Linked DNA regions of Homo sapiens: region 1 is linked to region 2. Evidence: promoter capture Hi-C in human tissues and cell types (Jung and others, 2019). All regions are on one chromosome and are shown on one strand. The core of a region is centred on a gene start or on the middle of the fragment in contact, and the rest is flanking DNA. Distances in the headings are between cores, read along the strand shown. Region 1 overlaps ADSS2 (adenylosuccinate synthase 2). Region 2 holds the start of AKT3 (AKT serine/threonine kinase 3).

The links. Contacts are between HindIII fragments. The study calls those that stand out against the background at their distance.
Region 1: a contact is called between a fragment that was not itself captured here and the fragment with the promoter of AKT3 in region 2, in 1 of the 25 tissues and cell types used here (hippocampus).

What each region holds. Positions count from the first base shown.
Region 1 is chr1:244,429,855-244,434,411 of GRCh38, forward strand. ADSS2 (adenylosuccinate synthase 2) reads right to left here. Exons shown (of 13, transcript NM_001126.5): 4 at 2,691-2,741. Among named protein-coding and RNA genes, the nearest start is that of ADSS2, 20 kb to the right of the region's middle. The HindIII fragment of the contact is 5,061 bases long and covers 57-4,557 here.
Region 2 is chr1:243,847,582-243,852,569 of GRCh38, forward strand. AKT3 (AKT serine/threonine kinase 3) reads right to left here and starts at 2,662. Exons shown (of 14, transcript NM_005465.7): 1 at 2,459-2,662. RefSeq lists an enhancer at 1,571-2,071. The HindIII fragment of the contact is 14,855 bases long and covers 1-4,988 here.

The sequences.
Region 1 (4,557 bases), core at 1,337-3,836, 580 kb after region 2:
CTGGGTGACAGAATGAGACCCTGTCTCAAAAAAATAATAAAATAAAATAAAATAAAAAATATGTTTCTTATAAGACTTTTTAAGGGCCCTGGGAAGTGAACCTTACAGGCTTTTAGTGATATACGTTTTAAAGCATTAACACACCCATTATGACACATATGACCACTAACACCTACATTTCAGTCTGCGCTTATCTTCTACAGGCTCAGTCCTCTGTCAGAAATACTTTCCTTTAAGGTCATACACTTATGGGAAAAAATAATTAAAGAAATATAACTATAAATAAAATAATAATATTCATTTACATTTATTATGGTTAAACCACATTACTTTCCTTTTACTCTAGGCCTTTTGACCCCTTCCCATTACTACTTTGTTGTTTTGTTTTGGTGGTCTAAAGTAATTAAGTAACTTGCTTAACCTCTATGTTGTACCAAGGATGGAACTGTTAAGTGACAGACCCAAAGCAATTGCAATGAAGAAGGAAGATGGAGAATCCAGACAGGAACAGGGATATGTCTCTTAACACTAACCTCTTTCCAACAGGCTGATATCATCAGCGTATATTTATATCTGCACATAGCCCAATTATCTGATTATATACACTGATGCTATACGTTATTCAAACGGCAGGTGTTAGGGATTATTCTGTTTTGCAATCCTAAATTGCGGTATGCTGATTAAGATACTGAATTTCACAGAGCAGACAACATAACAAAAAGCCATTGGAAAGTTCTGAAGATAAGCAGTGGTTTTCATTATCTAATGCAGCGCCTTGCTTTATCCACAACAGGAACAATGGATACCAAAAAGCTACACATAAAATCATGAAGGTAAAAGAAGATAAAGATGACTATTGGTAACAGAATAAATAAAGCTAATGAGTAGTAAGTGTAAGCAAACAAAAATGCTACAAAAGTACTTCACAAAAACATATTTTTCCTTATATAACTAGGAGACTGCCAGTAAGAAAGAATATTAGTTGGGCCGGATGCAGTGGCTCACGCCTGTAATCCCAGCACTTTGGGCGGCCAAGGTAGGCAGGTCACCTAAGGTCAGGAGTTCAAGACCAGCCTGACCAACAAGTGAAACCCTGTCTCCACTAAAAATACAAAAATTAGCTGGGCATGGTAGCACACCTGTAATCCCAGATACTCAGGAGGCTGAGGCAGAAGAATCACTTGAACCCGGGAGGCAGAGGTTGCAGTGAGCTGAGATCACCCCACTGCACTCCAGCCTGGGTGACAAAGTGAGACTCTGTCTAAAAAAAAAAGAATATTAGTAATACTCTATTGCTTCCTATATTATAGCACAATAGTGATATATAAGTTTAAAATTCAAGTTCTAAGATAAGCTAACAAACAAAATATAAATATTTTTAAAATCAGAAGCTTAAAATAGGCAACAAAAATGACAACCTCCTTCTTCTGAAAACCAAAACAAAACCCTTTTGTCCTTATCCAAATTGCATGTTATCATTTGGGACTGCAAAGCTTCTTTGTTTCCTTTGTTTTTTGTCTTGGTTATGCATCTATGCCATTAATAATTCTGGAAATAAGGTGTCTTTTAAATAAAAGTTTTACTGATAATATTTTCATAGTTTAAGTATAATCAGGTGAAATATAAACTACTCACAAGCTTACTTTATGTTAAATACAGAAGTATTCCACATTTTATCCACTTACACTAACAAACAGCTATCAAAGTCTTTGTTTTCAAGGATAACCAGTCTACTAATAGACAACATACAGGACAACAAATATTAACATAAAACTGTTTTTCAGTAAAAACAAAAAATTGTTCTTTTCAGACTTTACAGATTAAGAAGCCTGTGGCAAACAATGTAATGAAGAGGCCAGTTTCATATAGAAACTGTATGTTAATCCAATAGAGTTTACTTCAAATAAGTTATTTTATTGGGTTACTAAGATTATACATAGGATTCAAGTCTGTGGCTGTTATCTGGAGGGACCGTTATTTGATTTCTGTGCTTGGCTGAGAAATACTGTAAGTATCTTGATGAGGCTGCCTTTTAAATAGAGGCCAGTGTTAAAACTAGAGCAGCTACTGCCACAGGACACACGCATACTTAAATACAATTTAAGAGTGCAGATCAATCACAGAGAAGTTTCCTACGTGGTTTTTACTTATTTCTTTTCTGGTTATTGTCTCTTAAATCATGTCACTGCTAATTAACAACTCCATTGGTTCTGAAAGAGAAAAATAACAGAGAAGAAAATCCCAAATTTATTGGTAGTGGTTGAAATTTAGGTTAGTCTGAATAAAATCTGAATCACTTAAAAAGCAATAACTACTACATTTTAGGCACAAAGAGTCACTCTATCTGCAAAACGGTACACTTACTTTTACAAGAATATTACGTATACAAATAAATGTTCTTTGCATTTTGATATGGCTTATTTTTAAATAGAATTAGAGATGTCTTATGAAATACTGCTTGTATTATAAATTTGCTTAGCTAACCTTTTTTTCAAACAGGTAAATTTCAGCCTAGACTGTTAAAAAAGAAAAAAATTAGTAAGTATTTTTTGTATTTAGAACTCAATTACTACAATCCATCCTACTTACGCTAAATAAAAATAAAAGACAAAATTAGTTACTAAATACTTTCATTTGATAAATTTCAGATAAAAAGATAGTTACAAATAAATGCAATATATCCACCTTACCAATATGAGCTCTGTCAGATATAATAAGCCTTTTTTCCCAGCCTTCTAGTCCTAGAAAGGGGAAAAAGATATATTTAATTGAATATTTTGTATAGCAGTTTTAAAATCTTAATTTCTTTTTTTTTTTTTTTTTTTTTGAGACAGAGTCTCGCTCTGTCACCCAGGCTGGAGTGCAGTGGTGTGATCTCGGCTCACTGCAAGCTCCACCTCCCGGGTTCACTGCCATTCTCCTGCCTCAGCCTCCCAAGTAGTTGGGACTACAGGCACCCGCCACCACACCTGGCTAATTTTTTTTTTGTAATTTTAGTAGAGACTGGGTTTCACCGTGTTAGCCAGGATGGTCTCGATCTCCTGACCTTGTGATCCACCCACCTCAGCCTAAGATCTTAATTTCTTTAGAAATATGTCTAGGCCAGGCGTGGTGGCTAACACCTGTAATCCCAACACTGTGGGAGGCCAAGGCAGGTGGATCACTTGAGGCCAGGGGTTCGAGACCAGCCTGGTCAACATGGTAAAACCCCGTCTCTACTAAAAATACGAAATTAGCTGGGTGTGGTGGTGGGTGCATCTAATCCCAGCTACTCGGGTAGCTGTGGCACGAGAATCACTTGAACCCAGGAGGCAGAGGTTGCAGTAAGCCAAGATTGTGCCACTACACTCCAGTGTATGTGGCGGAGCGAGATGCTGTCTCACAAAAAAGGAAACACAATCTCTAAAAGTGTTTTTACTGAAGCAATCAAGTTTGTATCTTTTCTTCTGTATAGGAAACATCATGTCTAACAAGAGTTTTCTCACATGTCATTCATTCCATACATAAATTCACTCACATGCTATCTTTCCAAATGTCTTGCTCTAAAAGCTCCAAATTCAAACCAGTCACATCCAAATAAAATACTTCTAGGAATCCAAAAGGCAAATGGTAGAAAAACATCATGCTGGGGAGGTTAGGTACCTGGCAGGGAGAAATTTGCCAGAAGGGAGTTAATTTTAGGAATGGCATCCTTTCCCAAAAGATAGTTATAACAAATATGGGCTGGGTGCGGTGGCTTACGCCTGTAATCCCAGCACTTTGGGAGGCCAAGGCGGGCGGATCACCTGAGGTCAGGAGATCGAGACCATCCTGACCAACATGGTGAAACCCCGTCTTTACTAAAAATACAAAAATTAGCTGGGTACGTGATGGCGGGCGCCTGTAATCCCAGCTACTCGGGAGGCTGAGGCAGGAGAATCACTTGAACCCGGGAGGCGGAGACTGCAGTGAGCCAAGATTGTGCCACTGCACTCCAGCCTGGCAACAGAGCAAGACTCCATCTTTAAAAAAAAAAAAAAAAAAAAAAAAGGTAAAGAAAATAAACTTTTTCATTAATTCTTCTAAAGTACTACTGTCAATTACTGTACTTACTACAGTGAATTGTGAGGTATATCTGTCCCCCCATTTAACTGTGGAAGACCTAGAGGAGGGGCTGTGAGCTTTCATAGCACAGGGCCTGTTATCCAGTAAGTGGTTTTAAAAATTACTTTTGGCTGAGAGCAGTGGCCTATAATCCTAGCACTTTGGGTGACCAAGGCAGGAGGATTGCTTGAGGCCTGGAGTTTGAGACCAGCCTGGGTGACACAGAAAGACCCCATCTCTACAAAAAAAAAAAAAAAAAATTAAAAAACCTAGTCAGGCATGGTGGCATGTGCCTACAGTCCCAGCTACTCGGGAGGCCGAAGCAGGAGGACTGCTTGAGCCCAGAAGGTAGAGGCTCACTACTGTGTTCACACCACTGCACTCCAGCATAGACGACAGAGCAAGACCATGTCTCCAAAAAAAAAAAAAGACGCTTGAATGAACAAATGAACCCAAATCGATGTTTTTCTTTAA
Region 2 (4,988 bases), core at 1,412-3,911:
CATCAAAAGCTACAGCTTAAAAAATAAGTCCTTACTTTCCACAAGTCTCTATGCTAAGTCCATTTGTTCCCTAGTAAGTTTAATCAACACGTTTATTTAGATTTGCAGTGATTCTGAAAACAGATTCCTTCTGACAGTGATTTTCTGAATGAAATGTAAATATTAAAAGTTTTTAATTAAACCAGCACACAGTTCACACTCCAGTATTTGTTAAATATAATCTTATTTAAAATATTTTACAGCTATGAAATTAATTTTTAAAAAGTCCAAAGCAAAACCTTAAAGTACTCTGACATATACAATTTAGAGTCGATGTCAAGATTATTAAGCCAAAAATTAATTTTAAATTGGAAAACAATTCACTCCAGTAATAATTATGGAAAGAAAACCAAATGAATACAAATAATAATTTCACAATTTTTGCAGGATTACTTTGGACTATTTTTAAAACGCTGTAAGAAAACATGCTGCAAAACCACAATGCAAATACACAACTGAAAACTAAAACCCTACATTCATCTAAATTTCAACAGTCTCATTCATGTAATATTTGTCCTCCCTCACTTTAAAACTGGAACCTCAAGCCAATCAAAGATATTGGGGTCAACCCTAGTAAGGAAAACAAAAAGATCTTCAAGTACCATCTCCCTGTAAACTTTCAAGTACTATCTCCTTGGTAAACTTTCCAAGTCAAGATAATGTACTGGCAAAAGGAAAACAATTACAGTCCGGATATATATCTTGCATATAATTGTGCATTAAGTCATAAACCTTGGAAAACTAGTAACTTAGTAATAAGTTGCTATTTTAATTATAAAATATTTTCATGTTTTAGACAACCACCCCCGGAATGTTTGTATTCGTTTATACATATTTTGCAAGTGATACTCAAGTTCTGAAGACTAATCTTCATTTCCTACACCATCTTTATTAGACTCTTCCACCTTCGTTTTCCTAAGTAAATACATAACCTAAACCAATGAGTTTCACTCATTTGTCAGCTTCAACCACTGACAAAACCCAGTGGTTGCCTAGTGATGTATAGTTCTACTAAAAGACATATATGACCATGCTTTACCAAATACGGAACACATGTCTAAACTGTTGAGACAACTGCCAATGTATTAACTACAAAAAGCCATTATTTTTTACTTTAGCCTCAACTAAAATCAAAGTGTGAACACTTTATTATGGCTAGAAATTACCCAATATAGATGCATAGGTTTCACTGTTGACTTTCTATTTGGAAACTTCATCAATTGCAAACTACCAGGCTTTCAACCAAAATGCCACATTGGTGAAATGAGTTGGTTTTATTTTCATAACAACATTATTTTGATGGAAGAAATGTGAGCATCCCAGCTTTGACTTGTGGGTAAGCATTTCCTCTGCTTTCAGAACATAAACAGTAAATACCGGTATTGGAAAAACCTGGCCCCAACGAGATTCTTTATCTCTAGGCTAACTGTAGATTCCCGGGAAATCCCAAACAAGGGATGGTGACCCCGCCTCGGCGTCAGGGTCAACACAGCAACCAGCTAGGCTTCAACTTTGGGCTCTGAAGGGCCCCACCGGCATCATGGCTGATGCGGACCGATGCGCCGGAGGAGGTGGACAAGGAAGAGGCTGGTCTGTTTACTTGCAGCCAGAGCTGCCGCCGCCGCCAGCAGCGACAGCATCACTGGATCAGCCAAACCCAGCATCTTCCGCACATTTCTATTCTTAGCACACAACTCCCAAGCGGATCAAAACCCCACTACTATTAAAAACACAGACAAGCACGTTACCCACCTCCCACACACACACCCCCCCCCCCACCCCACCAGTGCCGTCTTTTCCTGCGCGCCAGTGGCGGGGAAGGGTGGGGGAAGGAAGGAGACCCCGGGGACGCCTGTGCATCCTCGCCTTCACCCCACCCCACGCGCAGACAGCCTCAGCGCCAGGGCGCGCGGCAGACGGCTCCCTCCCCCCAACCCAAACACACTGACACCGGCGCTCCACGCGTTATATAACCTCGCCGCCGCCCCCGGTCCAGGCGGGCGCCCCCTCCCCACGCCGCGCGGCCCGGGCGGGGAGGGGCGAGGGGAAGGAGCGAGAGTTGCGCAGACAGCAGGCGCCGGGCCGGGGCAGCCCAGACACAGACGGTACCGCTAGGCCGGGAACACCCCTCCCCCGGCCCGCTGCGCACCGCCGCCCCCCAGCTTTCCCCGGAAAGCGGGGGGTGTCGGTGTCAACCGCGCTGGGCATCCCCCGGCCTCCACACCCACACCCGAAGCCTCCGGTGACCCAGCCCCCGCCCACGCCCCCGGCGCGGTGACAACCCAGAAGCCCCCGCCTCACCCCACCCCGCCGCCATCCCCCGCCTGAGGGAGGCAGGGAGGGCGGACCGGGGCCCGGGGCCCGGAGGGAGTGGAGGCCAGGCGGGGAGGGGGCTAGAGTTGGGGGCGGTGGCTGTTACCTGCAACGGCGGCGGCGGCGGTGGCGGCCCCGCAGCTGCTCGGGCGGCGGCGGAGGATGGAGCCGGGGGGGGGCGGGGGGAGGAGAGGGGGCGACTCGGGGGTCCCCCCTCCCTCCTCCTCCCCTCCTGTCCTCCCCCCACCCCACAGAGCCTCTGGCCTCCTGGAGCCCGGTGCGGCCGGCGGGAGGGCAAGCGAAGGGCTGCAGGGGAGGGAGGGAGGGAGCCGGCCGGGCCGGGCCGCGGAGCTGGAGCGGGAGGCGGCGGCGGCGGCGGCGGCGGCGGGAGGGGGAGGGAGGAGAGAGGGCGGCGGCGGGGAGAGGAGGAGGCGGAGACTCTACATGGGAATCGGATATCGGCTACAAATTCATCACCAGAAAACACCGCTCGGGCGGGGGCCGGGTCACGCCGGCGGGGCGGCGGCTCTGGGCCCCGGGGCGCGCCCGGCGCGGGGAGGGGTTCTGCGGCCTCCTCCCGGGCTGCGCCTCGCTGAGGGGACCCCCCGCCGCCTCCCCGCCCCCTCCTTCCTCCCGCTCGGGGCCGCCGCCGATCGGTTCTCGCCGTCGCCGCGGGGCTTGTTGTTGACTTTGAGGAAAACTCCTGACGTCAGGGGCTGGCTCTCGGCGACTGGCGGGAGCGGCTTCCCCGCGTCCCCGGCCCTGCCCGCCGCCTCTGCTCCCCTCCCTGCCCGGCCCTCGTCCTCAGGCTTCCCCGCGCCCCCAAACCAGCGGTGCCCCGCGCCCCCTCTCCTCTCGCGAGAACATCCCCCTAGCCAGCCAGAGCCGGGAGCGGGGGCAGTCGCTCCCGGGCGGGAAGTTCTGGGTTTCCCCCTCGCCCGCGTGGCCCTTGGCGGGCACCCGAGGCCCGGGAGCGGAGGCTCCTCGCCCAGCCGCTTCCTCGGCGCATCCGCCCACCCGCCCTGGCCGCGGACGCGCGCGCCGCCAGGCCCCGGGCGTCTCCTCCAGTCCGCCGCGGCCCCTTGGGGAGATGGGCCCGGCGCGAGGGCTCGCACCTGGAAGCCCACGAAGTGGGCGGTGCCCAATGAGGTAGGGACCGGAGAGCGCGGAGCAGTCCAGAAGCCGACCCCACCCCCTGCACCTCGGGGAAGAGGGAACCCGGGTCAGCCCGTAGCAAGAATCATTCCTGACTATCCCAGGAGACCACGGCAGACCAAAAACACCTCTCTGAACAGCCTTCCGCACCGCTCGCTGCAAGCATTCGTCCACACACGGTACACAGATTGCGGGCGGATCGTAATTCACTCTTGAAATCACACCCTTTTTAGGGATATTCGTTTTCAATGACTTTGGGAAAGCCACGAGGTACTACATTTACTACGAAGAGACCGTTTCTTTATTTTGAAGTCAGTGACTCCTGAGACTGCATTGGGGACAACTTTTTTGCACAATGACCATATTTTACCATGCAGCGCACTTCAGAAAATTATAAAAGTTTACAAGTTTTATCGCTTCTGGAAACACCTGGGCAGCATCCCTATTATCCCGCCACGTGGCTCTAGCCTTGTTGATGTACCTGTTACTTTCTCCCACTGCAACATTTTTGTTAATGTCTGTGGCTTCTTTCTGCAGAAGAGTTCCTCCTCCTGACATGCACTTCATTCTCTGCTTTTCTATGTCTTGACAACTCTCTTATGGTAGTCATTTTCTTATACTGTAGCCCCCTGGTATTTATGTACTGTGTGGTATTAATATTTATACTTCCAGGTTCACATCTTTTATGAACTGTGCATCTGTTGGGATTGTGGACAGGAGTAGGAAACCAAATAAAAGGGTTTTTTAAAAAAGTCAGTTTTCTCCGTTTGTAAGGGAAACTTGTCTCCCTGACCACCCTGGAGCAAAATTTGCCATTTTAAGATAACACAGTCCGTCTGAGAGAAAGTCCTGCACCATGCCTTTCCCCTTTTCCCATATTTCCCAGCATGCTATGAGCTGATGAATAAACAGACTTTGTCCTATTTTCGTTGTATCTATAAAATATACATAATGTATTCCCATAATTATCAGACCTCTCACAGTCACTATTGGTAAAATTATTGGGTTACAGGTTTCTTGCTGTAAAACACAAAAATAGGTCATATTTTTATTCCATAGTACCCCAACTTGCTTTTTATTTTTAAGAAAATAGTCCCTTATGACACCAGCACTAAAAAGAGTGTCTGAAACTTTAAATACTTAACTTTTGAGAGTCAGAGTATCCGGAATTACTGAATTACTAGATATCTCTTATCAGTGAGATGTTCATTTGTTCCCAAATTTAACATCAATATATTTACAAGAACTGAATGTGTCTTATGAGCCATACTACCTCAAAATATTTCTCCCAGTCTGGTCAGATTGCATTAAATCTTAGGTGGATTAAACCCTAAAATTCAGTATGTGAGAATGGATTATATACTCTCGGCTTCATGTATTTGAAGAATTATAAGTTTTTATTTCTGTTCAATTTTTGCTTGTGGACTATAGTAGTTTCATAAGTTTCCATAATAAAAGCATGTTTGATTTTGTTATTGAAT